4 separate regions of the Homo sapiens genome follow, and all the other regions are linked to region 1. Evidence: promoter capture Hi-C in 16 types of primary human blood cells and fetal thymus (Javierre and others, 2016). All regions are on one chromosome and are shown on one strand. The core of a region is centred on a gene start or on the middle of the fragment in contact, and the rest is flanking DNA. Distances in the headings are between cores, read along the strand shown.

What was found. The method cuts DNA at HindIII sites, captures the fragments that hold promoters and counts their contacts. A CHiCAGO score of 5 or more calls a contact.
Region 2: a contact is called between a fragment that was not itself captured here and the fragment with the promoter of BTBD8 in region 1, in 1 of 17 cell types (fetal thymus). The highest score is 7.4, in fetal thymus.
Region 3: a fragment that was not itself captured here is called in contact with the fragment with the promoter of BTBD8 in region 1 in 1 of 17 cell types (naive CD4 T cells); the score reaches 6.9 in naive CD4 T cells.
Region 4: a contact is called between a fragment that was not itself captured here and the fragment with the promoter of BTBD8 in region 1, in 1 of 17 cell types (fetal thymus). The highest score is 5.3, in fetal thymus.

The regions. Positions count from the first base shown.
Region 1 is chr1:92,078,880-92,081,850 of GRCh38, reverse strand. It overlaps BTBD8 (BTB domain containing 8), which reads right to left and starts at 1,506. Exons shown (of 18, transcript NM_001376131.1): 1 at 1,131-1,506. The coding sequence starts at 1,279. RefSeq lists an enhancer at 1-233. The HindIII fragment of the contact is 1,063 bases long and covers 893-1,955 here.
Region 2 is chr1:92,474,616-92,477,529 of GRCh38, reverse strand. It overlaps GFI1 (growth factor independent 1 transcriptional repressor), which reads left to right. Exons shown (of 7, transcript NM_005263.5): 7 at 1,323-2,914. The coding sequence ends at 1,501. Among named protein-coding and RNA genes, the nearest start is that of GFI1, 11 kb to the left of the region's middle. RefSeq lists an enhancer at 1,234-1,463. The HindIII fragment of the contact is 3,970 bases long and covers 1-2,914 here.
Region 3 is chr1:92,586,956-92,589,846 of GRCh38, reverse strand. The region is part of intron 18 of EVI5 (ecotropic viral integration site 5); the gene reads left to right. Among named protein-coding and RNA genes, the nearest start is that of GFI1, 100 kb to the right of the region's middle. The HindIII fragment of the contact is 1,253 bases long and covers 735-1,987 here.
Region 4 is chr1:92,491,200-92,494,103 of GRCh38, reverse strand. No RefSeq gene overlaps it. Among named protein-coding and RNA genes, the nearest start is that of GFI1, 5.7 kb to the right of the region's middle. The HindIII fragment of the contact is 6,595 bases long and covers 1-2,904 here.

The DNA of each region.
Region 1 (2,971 bases), core at 257-2,756:
TGTAATCCCAGCATTTTGGGAGGCCGAGGCGGGCGGATCACTTGTGGTCACGAGTTCGTGACTAGCCTGGCCAACATGATGAAATCCCGTCTCTACTAAAAATACAAAAATTAGCCGGGCGTGGTGGCGCGTGCCTGTAATCCCAGCTACTCGGGAGGTTGAGGCAGGAGAATGGCTTGAACCCGGGAGGTGGAGGTTGCAGTGAGCCGAGATCGCGCCACGGCGCTCCAGCCTGGGCGACAGAGCGAGACTCCGTCTCCAAAAAAAAAAAAGTAGAATGCTGCACAACTTTTAATTATTAGTAATTATGTTTACCTCAGTGGTTCTCATAGTCACCCTAGCCAGCAGCATTAGCATCACTTGGGGCCTTGTTAGAAATGGAAAATTTCAGTGATGCCCACCCAAGTTTAAGAATCAATGTCTTGCTGGAAATGTAAATTAGCTAGGTCATATTTCTAAGCTTCAATTTCTTTGTAAGCTGAAATTACTTTAGCTGGATTCCCAATAACCCGAGAAGGATATCCATGAGGCTTACAAAGGTTAAATGTCAGGAAGACCCTCCATTTGCTTTGGTCCTCACAGGAGCTGAGAGTTGCTGGGAGCTACAGAGAGCTCTAGGTGGAGAGAGGAATCCAGGTCGCAATCAGGAAGCATTTCTGGTAAATTGTTTAAAGAGACCTCAGAAGAGACCTCCAAGACTATAGTATTGTTCTTTCCTCATTTCAAATAATCGTTTTCCTAATTTTATTATTTTTCTTAAAATAGTATAAGCTTATTTTAAAAATTGTGTAAGTTTCAGGACCTGGATCCACCCGACCTTAGTGATTGGAAACAACTAAGCGTGCCTGTGTTGAGATATTTCTAGCAAACTAGTGCTGCACACGACTAAGCTTTTTTTGTTTTCCTTTTGAATCTGGTACATGGTGTCGAGGTGCTCGGGATTGTTTATTCAGGGCGAGCGAAGCCACTTTTCGGAATAGTGGGGAGACTGGCTAACGACCCGCAGTCGCCTGAGGCGAGGAGAACCAAGTGCTGAGGGAGGGGGAGGCAGAGCCGAAAGAAGCCTCAGCTTCGGGGCGGAGGTGGGCGATTTAGGAACTGAAGCAGCCAGAGTTCCCGCCTCCTCCTACCTGAGCAAATCCTGGCTGAGCTGCTCCGACACCGTCGCCTTCAGCCGGCGCCGCTCACACGGCCCCTTCCTTTGCAACCCCTTACTGCAAACTCCAGCGGACCCCAGAAGTACCATGGGGGCCGCACTGCCTTCCCCACAGCGAGCCATGTCTCACAGAGGTACGACGCCCTGGAGGCCCAGTACTTGGCCTCACTTGCCCCGCCCAGGAGGAAGAAGGGGGCGTTTCCGACCGAACGCTCGGCTCCTACCCAAATCCGCCCCCTAGGGTAAAAGGTTGACGCCTCTCGTCGGTTTGTAGACAGTCTCCCAGAGAAGCCGGACCGCGGTGGGGAGCCTCAGAATCCCAGAACCGAGCCGGCTCTTGACCCAGGAAGAGCGTGCGCAGGCGTACTCGCTCTGTTTACTTCTGCCGGCGGGCACCCCGCCTCCCATGGCTCAGGCGCGGACCATCCCGCGGGGCAAACCAATCCTCAGGCTCCTTATCCCCTCCCCTCTTCTTTCCCTTCCGGTTGGTGTTCATTCATTTCAATGTTTTACTGAGGCTCGAGTTCAAATCAGCACATGCAGCCTTTCTATGCTGTGTCTTCCTGACAGGTCTACACTTTTTTCCAACGAAAGACTGGGCGAGTCACACCCCCTCACTTACCTGGCTTCTTAACCCTGAGGTATAAATGTTTGGGGCAAGAAAAATTGGCGATGGGAGGAGTAGGGGAAGAACTTCATAAACTGCCAGTCAGAACAATTCTGAGTTCAATATAAGAGATACTTACAGCATCTAGAAGGCCCCATCCCCTTCTTATCCAAGGAGTGGCTCATACAAGCTTTTGGACTTGATCGGAGAAAGCACAGGGCTTTGCATATAAAGCCCTAACATTTATGACCAAGAAGGGAGAAATAGGTAAGGGGCAAAGTCTTTGAGCAGTGAAGTGATGGATGGATGAAATATAGAATTCTCTTTTGTCCCAAATAAAGTAGCAAACTGATTATCATTTAAGGTTTTGGTATTTTTTATTTGATTACTGCCTCCAAAATAAGGAAACTCAGTAGTTCCGCTTCGGGCCGGGCAAGTCCCATCTACTTGGGAAGCGAGGCGGAATGATGGCTTGAGCCCGGGAGGTCGAGGCTGCAGTGAGCCATGATTGCACCACTGCACTCCAGCCTGAACAGCACAGCAAGACCCTGTCTCAAAAAAAAAAAAAAAAAAAAAAATCTGTTTCATTCACAAACTCTACACACAAGGTGAAGAATAGTAATTGCTTGGAAAATACATTGGCCAGGTTGCGGTGGCTCACACCTGTAATCCCAGCACTTTGGGAAGCCAAGGCGGGAGGATCACTTGAGCCCAGGAATTAGAGACCAGCCTGGGCAACATAAGGAGACCCTGTCTCTACCAAACAAAAAAAAAAAAAAAGGAGGCGGGGAGGGGAATATATGGACTTTGTATTTGTACCATAAGATTGGCCAAGAGGTAACCATTTCTTCAGATAATGCCCCCTCTCAAATATTCAGACATCTTAATTCTGAAAAATATAACTGGATAATTGATTTTTTAAAATTAATTCCCAAATGCTTGGATGGATAATTGATTCTTAATTATTCCTGTAGAAACGAGGGGTGTCAAAGATAACATAATAGTAGCTTATATTTGAATCCTTATTATGTGATAAACGCTACTCTATTTGCTCTGTGTGTTTTAACTCAGTTAATCCTTACAACAACCATTTAGCTAGGTACTGTCTTCAGACCTATTTACAGATGAGGAAGCTGAGGCATACAAAGGATAGGTAAACTTGGCCAAGGTCACACAATGTCATATATCACACTATAATATATGGTGTG
Region 2 (2,914 bases), core at 415-2,914, 400 kb before region 1:
ATTTACATGAGACCCAGAATTTCTGAAAATTTTATTGCAGAATATGAATACTGATTTAGAACAAATCACAGTGTATTCTAAACACCCACCCTTGATGTTTATAAATATACTTGGGTAATGTATATATTTCCATTGAAAACCCAGAAAAGTATTCTACTTTAATCATTCCCTCTTACCTGAAATTTCCATGTAATTCACTCCTTATAAGTAAGGTATTCAGGACACTTATCAAAATGCAACTAGGATCTTGACTGAATAAAACATTAAGCCCTTATCAAACATTTACGTTATACCTAGAATTTGTTTTCTCAGATTTGTTTGACCCTAAAGGGATAGAATACATTTTGATGGGTGGTTTCTTATCAAGGAAATCTGAAGCATGAAAACAGAAAAGAGTTTTTAGCAAGGAGGACAGAGGGTTCCTCAAAAACAAACTTCATCTATTTTATACTTTTTCCAAGGCTGAGCCCTGACTATAATGCCATGCTGGGCTATTGGAAATTCATGCCATTTACCCAACAACACATGAGATGGGGAACAAGACAAAACCTTCTTGTGTTCTCTTATTTATTAATTTGTGGTGAAGAATTGCTGGTATATAAAGAATCATGTGATTAACCCCATAAAATTAAGGAAAAATCAAGACAGTAAAGTATCAGCTGCCTTAATCCTTTGTGGCCCAAATGTGGATTTTTAAAATAAGATATTGAAAAACGTATCCTGCACATGTACCCCGGAACTTAGAAAGAAAGAGAGAGAGAGAGAGAAATAAAGAAAGAAAGAAAGTCCATGTTAAGATGTTTTTTCAGATATAATCTGCTGTCCTTCAAGAACAAGAAAGAAGACGGGCTCACTGATCCATACAAACTAACACCCACTTGGAAATTCAGATTTGAAAACTTCCTCTGAATTAGAACGGAGTCACACGGTTTTAGGACAGCTTCCCCCTCCCCTTCCTGTTGAACATCTGCTCTGAGTGTTCATGGCTTATAAAGTCAGGGGAGTCCTCCCGGGGTAGATTCAGCTGGGGAGGGCACGTGGCCTTTGCTCTGTTTCCGTTTAGCAGGAAACCGTTTGAGGCCTTTGGCTGGGAACCCCCCTTCAGAAAGTCTCCCTTTCACCTGGTGCCCCCATGGTGCTTCCAGGGACTCGCATTGCAGGCTGGGAGTCAGTTCAGGTTGCAACACGTCACCCTCCAAGTTGCTTGAAGGCCTTAGACTGTGGTGCAACCAGCTGCTGCCAAGAGCATGTGGGTCACAGTGGGTCCCCTCTAGCTTTATCATAGACTCATACTTTCTCCCCTCCCCCTCCCATCCCCACAGGTGAGAAGCCTCACAAGTGCCAGGTGTGCGGCAAGGCATTCAGCCAGAGCTCCAACCTCATCACCCACAGCCGCAAACACACAGGCTTCAAGCCCTTCGGCTGCGACCTCTGTGGGAAGGGTTTCCAGAGGAAGGTGGACCTCCGAAGGCACCGGGAGACGCAGCATGGGCTCAAATGAGCACCCTGGCTGGCTGCAAGCAGCAGCTACACAACACTACAGAGGGCAGCCTCCCTGCTTGCCACCACTCTGCTCCCTGCTTGCCTCCACTCCCTTCTGACTTTCCAGACCCCAGGTCCAGTCTGCAGATCCTACCAGGTTGCTCCTCCTTCGCCTTACCTCCTGGAGCTGCCAGAAGAAATGAGGTACCTTTTCAAAGTGCAGCCGAGAGTGAGAACCAAGTGACTCTCTAGGCTTCGGACACAAATAGGCTCCTCTACACCTGAAGACAAAGGCAAAGTCAAATGGGGACCAGAATAAATCTTAGACCCCACAGTCCTTCCCATTTCCAGCCCTAATCTACAGACAGGAATGCCCTTCAGGTTTCTTCCCTCCCCCCTCTTGACCTACCCCAGATATTTGTGTGGAAGAGGAGGAATCACCATTTACAAGGTGGACAAATGCTAATATTTTTATCTAGAAAGAAGAGTGAGTGTTAACTTTTATTTTTTTCCTTCTGGGGGGTCTGTTGACTCCTTTCTTTTGGGTGCTGCCTATAAATCTTGGAGGAATCATTTCTCCTCCTCAAAAACTGATTCAGAAACTGACTTGGGGAAGGAATTTAATACTTTGAAGTCATGAGATGCACCATCGAGGCTACCCCCAAGAAGAAGCAGAAGAGAAGTTGGTAATGAGAGGGGATTAGAGGTCCTCCCTTCAGTAGGGCTGTGAAAACCTCATCACTGGAGGTAAAAGCACAAGCAATGCCTGTGGACAAGATGTCATTCATTCACTCAGCAAATGTTCATGGATCACCGGCTACCAAGGTACCAGGCACCATGCTAGGTATTGGGGAAGAGAGACTGAAGTCACAACCCCTGACTGCTCCTCAAAAGCTAACGGTTGCACCTCCAAGTGGCTGGGTCTGTTCTTACTCTTGGAGGGAATTCTGAGAAGACAGCACAGAATTGTAAACCTTCCCTTTTGACCCTTTTGGATTTTATCAGGTGTAAACAAAAAGCTGAACAGTTACTTCAAAGATATGTGTGTATATTCAGTTTTTTATTGTTAAGCTGATATTTTAAAGATTTCTGAGCTAGCAGGCATGTGGGAAGGAAGGCTCTGTCTTCAACTCTTTGACCCTCCATGTGTACCATAGAGGGGGGAAAGGTGGTATTTTCACTTTGATGAGGTTGGTAAATGTTTTTAGATCTTCTGGTAAGCATTATGTTTGTTAATACATATTTATTAGAGTGATGTTTTAAGTTAATAAAGTATTAAGAGTATTACAGATTGCCTTTCCTTTAGGCAGGGAATTTGGGGAAGACCTTTGTTTTAGTCTGTAGGGGGAAAGCTGGCACTGAAGGAAACTGCAATGGAGTATAAAAGTGAAGCACACAAGCTAATATCCAGAAGAGTAAAATCCAATTGCTC
Region 3 (2,891 bases), core at 112-2,611, 510 kb before region 1:
GGCTACTCAGGGGTCAGGGCCCCACTTGAGGAGGCAGTCTGTCGGTTCTCAGATCTCAAGCTGCGTGCTGGGAGAACCGCTACTCTCTTCAAAGCTGTCAGACAGGGACATTTAAGTCTGCGGAGGTTTCTGCTGCCTTTTGTTTGGCTATGCCCTGCCCCCAGAGGTGGAGTCTACAGAGGCAGGCAGGCCTCCTTGAGCTGCAGTGGGCTCCACCCAGTTGGAGCTTCTCGGCTGTGTTGTTTACCTACTCAAGCCTCGGCAGTGGCAGGCGCCCCTCCCCCAGCCTCGCTGCCGCCTTGCAGTTTGATCTCAGACTGCTGTGCTAGCAATGAGCGAGACTCTGTGGGCGTAGGACCCTCCAAGCCAGGCACAGGATACAATCTCCTGGTGTGCTGTTTGCTAAGACCATTGGAAAAGTGCAGTATTGGGGTGGGAGTGACTTGATTTTCCACGTGCCATCTGTCACCCCTTTCCTTGGCTAGGAAAGGGAATTCCCTGACCCCTTGTGCTTCCCTGGTGAGGTGATGCCTCGTCCTACTTCGGCTCACGCTCGGTGTGCTGCACCCAGTGTCCTGCACCCCTTGTCTGACAATCCCCAGTGAGATGAACGCAGTACCTCAGTTGGAAATGCAGGAATCTTTCATCTTCTGCATCACTCACGCTGGGAGCTGTAGACTGGAGGTGTTCCTATTCGGCCATATTGGCTCCACCCCCAAAAGTCAGCTTAAGCTTGACCAGTTGTGATCAGCATTCCCTGTTAATGCCATCTTACCTGATTTCGTGTATCTCTGCTCTTCTAATACCCTTTGTTAGAGATCTTTCTTATACCATCTCACACTACTGTAGTTAATTCTTTTCAATTTTTCTGTCCACCATGTGCAGCTGAAGTTCATTGAGGGTAAGGACCATTATTTGACTTTATATTTCCAATATCGGCATACTAGCCACAGTCAAAATATGTTTATTTACTGAAATAATTTGTATGTAATAGTTTATTTTTTGAAATATCAATTAGACTTTAAATGTTATTCTAATTTTAAAACCCACATGTGAAGAACAGATTAAGTTTCTAATTTAAATGAAGTATTGGTTTCAATTTTGTAGATATTTATGGGGTACTTACTATGTGCCTGTCACTATTCTAAACACTACCTGGATTAGTGAACAAAATACAAAAATCCCTTTCCTCATTGAGCTTTATGGTAGAATGAGAAGTTAGATGAAAAAAATAAATCTTATGGTGTGAAATTTAGACAGTGGAAGACAACGGAGAAAAATGTGAGAATGAGAAGATATTGGTATTAGGGATGGAGGACTGTTGCTATTTTCACAATGTGGTTTATAAAGGTTCATTAGAAGGGGATATTTATTTAAACAAACATTTGAATCAGATGAGGCATGAAGATTTGGGGGAAGAACTACTTACTAGGAGAATAGTACAGGCAAAGGGCCTGACATAAGGAGCAAGTCTGAAGTAGAGTCTGGGTGGAGTGAGACATGGGAATTAGAGGAAGTCTGAGAGGTAAATAGAGCCAATTATGTAGGACCTAAAACTTTGACCTTTCCCGACTCAGATGGAAAATCATTGGAGGGTTTTGAGCATGGGAGTGATCAGTTAGATGACATTTAAGCTGTTAAAAAGATTTAATTGAACTGATTCAAAAAATACTTGTAAGAATTCATGGTATTTAGTTTGGAGGGAAATGAGGTTAAAAAATTAAGTTTCCTCTTATTACTGGAGTTTTCCACCATCTAAATGCTATTTATTATTTGAAGACTTTATTTTTACATTAATACTAAATGGAGCTATCTCTAAATTCCATGGAGTAGAACAAAACATAGAAAAGTCAATTTTTTCCTCAGTTAGTTAAGGAAAATAGGTGAGAATTAAACCCAAGCCTTCTAGTATTTAACCTGGGATTGAGTTTGTATTTTGGTTATTATAAAGATAAGCATATTGATTTTTGTAACTATGTTAAAAGCTTCTGTGGGCTAAGCACATCTATAAAATTAACGCCACTTTGTTACAAGTAATGGAAAGTTTTTCATTTAAAAGAGTGTAGGTCTACTCAAATCCAACTTTTGGTTTTTTTCCTGGTACCCAGTAACATTTACCCATTTTGATTAGTTTGCCCAACAGATAACCTCTAGGGATGCCTCAGATGGGCAATACCCCAACCACTCTTGGCTTAAAAACGCCCACTCAAAATTCTGTTCTGACATAGAATGAGGGTGCTAGGTTTAAATCACTGTGCTCAGATCAGTATGTAGTTTTGACAGAGATGGAGAGGAAGTGATAAAACCTTTACCATTAACTTAAAAATATTATATTTTTTAATTATGTGAAATTACCATGACATTACTAAATGATGGAATTTATCATAAAGCTTTGTGATTAGTTTGTACTTTCCAGTTTCCTGAGCTAACTTGTTAATAGTTTTTTTTTTTTTTTTTTGCCCCTGAAGCACAATCGTTTATGGCTTTCGTTTTGAGCAATTTACCTAAATATTAAAATATTTTTCATTTTTCTTTAAGGCATTTCTCAATTTTAAGCATTTTTAATTTGAAAAAATATCTTCTGTAATTGTATCTTGTCTTAATATTAATTGTCAGGAAAATACGTACATAGACTGCTTTACCTAGCTTGCTATCTAGTCATTAGGGATTGCGAGATTCTGTTTAAAAACTTTTTTCTGAAGTGTTCAGAGATTCTTTCGTGTCCAACTTCAGTACACAGTTAAATTTAAAGGGATGAAGTATCTAGAGGTTTTTAGGATATTGCTATATCTAGAATTGAAGAACATCATTTGGATCCCCCAAGATGAGCTCATAGTAAGATCTCAGTTAAGAATTAGGGGAGTTTGGACTCTTAAGTACCATAATATATA
Region 4 (2,904 bases), core at 269-2,768, 410 kb before region 1:
CCAAAGTGCTGGGATTATAGGCTTGAGCCACTGCGCCTGGCCCTTCATGTGTTTTAATTAAAGCTCAAATGAAAACTCATGACAGTCCCTACTGATAAATTGCTCCTTGCCAGACAGTAAGAACAGTTGAGAATATTTTAGGAAGAGGCAATGATCCCCTAGCACTTCTCTACCAGCCTCAGCTCAGATGAACTGCTTGGCTTTATGGGGACACAGACCATGACAGTTGGAAGTGATCCTTGGAAAGCCTCCTGTGGGAGATAAGGTCCAGGAGCTCAGGAAGGGAGCCTGAGTCTCTCAGGTCTAATTGGGATATCAGAAATCCATATAAAAATGGCCGGTCATGGTGGCTCACGCCTGTAATGCCAGCACTTTGGGAGGCCGAGGTGGATGGATCACCTGAGGTCAGGAGTTCGAGACCAGCCTGGCTAACATGGTGAAACCCCCTCTCTACTAAAAATACAAAAATTAGCTGGACGTGGTGGCAGGCGCCTGTAATCCTAGCTACTCAGGAGGCTAAGGCATGACAATCGCTGGAACCCAGGAGGCGGAGGTTGCAGTGAGCCAAGATCGCACCACTGCACTCCAGCCTAGGTGACAGAGCGAGACTCTGTCTCAAAAAATAAAAAATAAAAAAAAAAAGAAATCCACATAAAAATGCTTCCTGGCAAGTCTCAGGGGCTGCCTGCAGTGCACAAACCTACTGCCCCTACAATGGGAGGCCTTGAGGCCTACCTCCTGCAGCAGTCCAGGGTCAGGAGTCAGGCTGGCCTGCGTTGGAATCAGGACTCTGTCCTTCTCTGGCTATGTGATCTGGGGAAGGCAAGCCTCTCTGAGTCTATTCCCACAGCCTGTTCATTGGGATGGTTAGAGATAATGTACATAAAAAGGGCCGCCAATAGTGCCTGTTGTAATAGTGACAATAACTAACACTTAGTAAATGCCTACTCTATGCTTTACATGTATTAACTCATTGAATCTGTTCCAGAATCTATGAAGTAGGTGTTGTTATTGTAACCATGTTTGCAGATGAAGAAACTGAAGTACAGAGAGGTTAAGGAACTTGTTTAAGGATAGAAGAAGGCAGAGCCAGAATTTCCAGACATTAGAAATCTGGCTTAGAGTCCATGCTCTTAATTGCTACACTCTTCTGCCTCTTAGCTACTGTGGTATTTATAATTTTTCTTGGCAGGGGTGTAATTATTACAATCATTCAGGAAAATAATTTCTCAATATGTGTCCATAGACTTGAAAATGTTCCTAGCCTTTAGCTGGGCATGGATGCTCACACCTGTAATCCCAGCAGTTTGGGAGTCCAAGGCAGGAGGATCACCTTGAGGCCAGGAGTTCAAGACCAGCTTGGGCAACATAGTGGGCCTACCTCTACAAAACAAACATACAAACACATAAAAAACAAAACACAACAAAAAGGAGGTTCCTAACCTTTGATCCAGGAGGGGAATCACTTCTGGTTATGAATCCTAAAGAAAGAATCCTACATATAGAAAAACCCAGGTACAATTAAAAAAAAAATCACAGCATCATTTATAGTAGGGAAAAAGGGAAATAATCCAACTGTCCAGTAACATAATAAATAAGATCACAGCACATCATCTAAATGGACAATTATACAATATCATCATAGTAGACTCTTTTTTTAAGACTGGGGGGAAAACACTCTGAAATATTACTAGAGGTTGAACTAAGGTAGTGAGATATGGAGCTGTATTTTTACTTTTTATTTTGTCTACTTTACAAATGTTCTATTGAATTAACATAACTATGCTGCTTTCAGCAACTTAAATACTATTATTTTCTGACCTTTGGATGAGCAGCATGCCTGCCAAGTCCACACTGTTGGGAGTGATGGGTTGGGCCTTGCAGCAGGAGAGGAGGGAATGTGTCTCTCCTCCACCATCCCATCCTTACTACCTCTCAAGTCTGTGACAGGCACGTGACTTTTGGCTCCAGGCTTTTCTACCCTATGCTGGATGTGAAACAAGTAATGTGATTTGGTGGAAAGAAACAATATTTGGAATCAACAGATTTGGTTGGAATAAGAAAGCTGCTAGTTATCAGAACCTGGGCTTCTTAAACCACTGGTGTCTCCCCCTTTTTTTTTTCCCTTCCTTTCCCACGTATGGACCACTGGTGTCCTTATCCATAAAACAGAAATGACCAGAATGCCTGCCTTGGAGAACTCCCAGCATTTCTTTCTCTTCTATGAAGCCCAGGATAGCAGCTGAGGTGGAACATCCAGTGGGCTGCATCTACCTATCATCAGTTCATGCTGTCCTTCTGTCTGTCTCTTTGGGCGAGCCTGAGGTTGTTCATGTGGGATGATCCTCCAAGCCCCGCCTCATGCAGACAGCAGCGGCCAGAGATTTTCAGAAGCCTCAACTCCCACCTTACCTCCAGATATGGGGTCATATATTTCCTTTAAGGGAGTTGTGTTTTGTGAGTAATTTTTAAAATTTACAATATATAGGCTGTACTATTTTAAAGTGAAGTGTTTCATCTGGGGTAGGGTGAACTAATCACCAAACATACTGGAGGAAATGGTGAAAAACTCAAAAGAAAGATAATTTTTGCATTTTCTCTCGTTTGATTTTCCATTCACAAAGCAAACTATACTCCTTTTTTTTCCTATAAAAGTTCACACTGGCTGTGTTTCTATGAGGAGTCATATCACATAGCTCACAGTAAGATGACACTTCGTTCAATCTATTCTTAGGAACAATGTAAAAATACGTATGTGGTGAGATTAACAATTTTCTTATTTGAACTCTGAACACCAAAGCTGACAGTCTCCTCCCTCTTCAGATGTTTGAAATCCTTTATGTAAAAGCCTAATTTAAACTTTATAGTAATAGATAATATTTTTAAATGTAATGAGATTTAAAT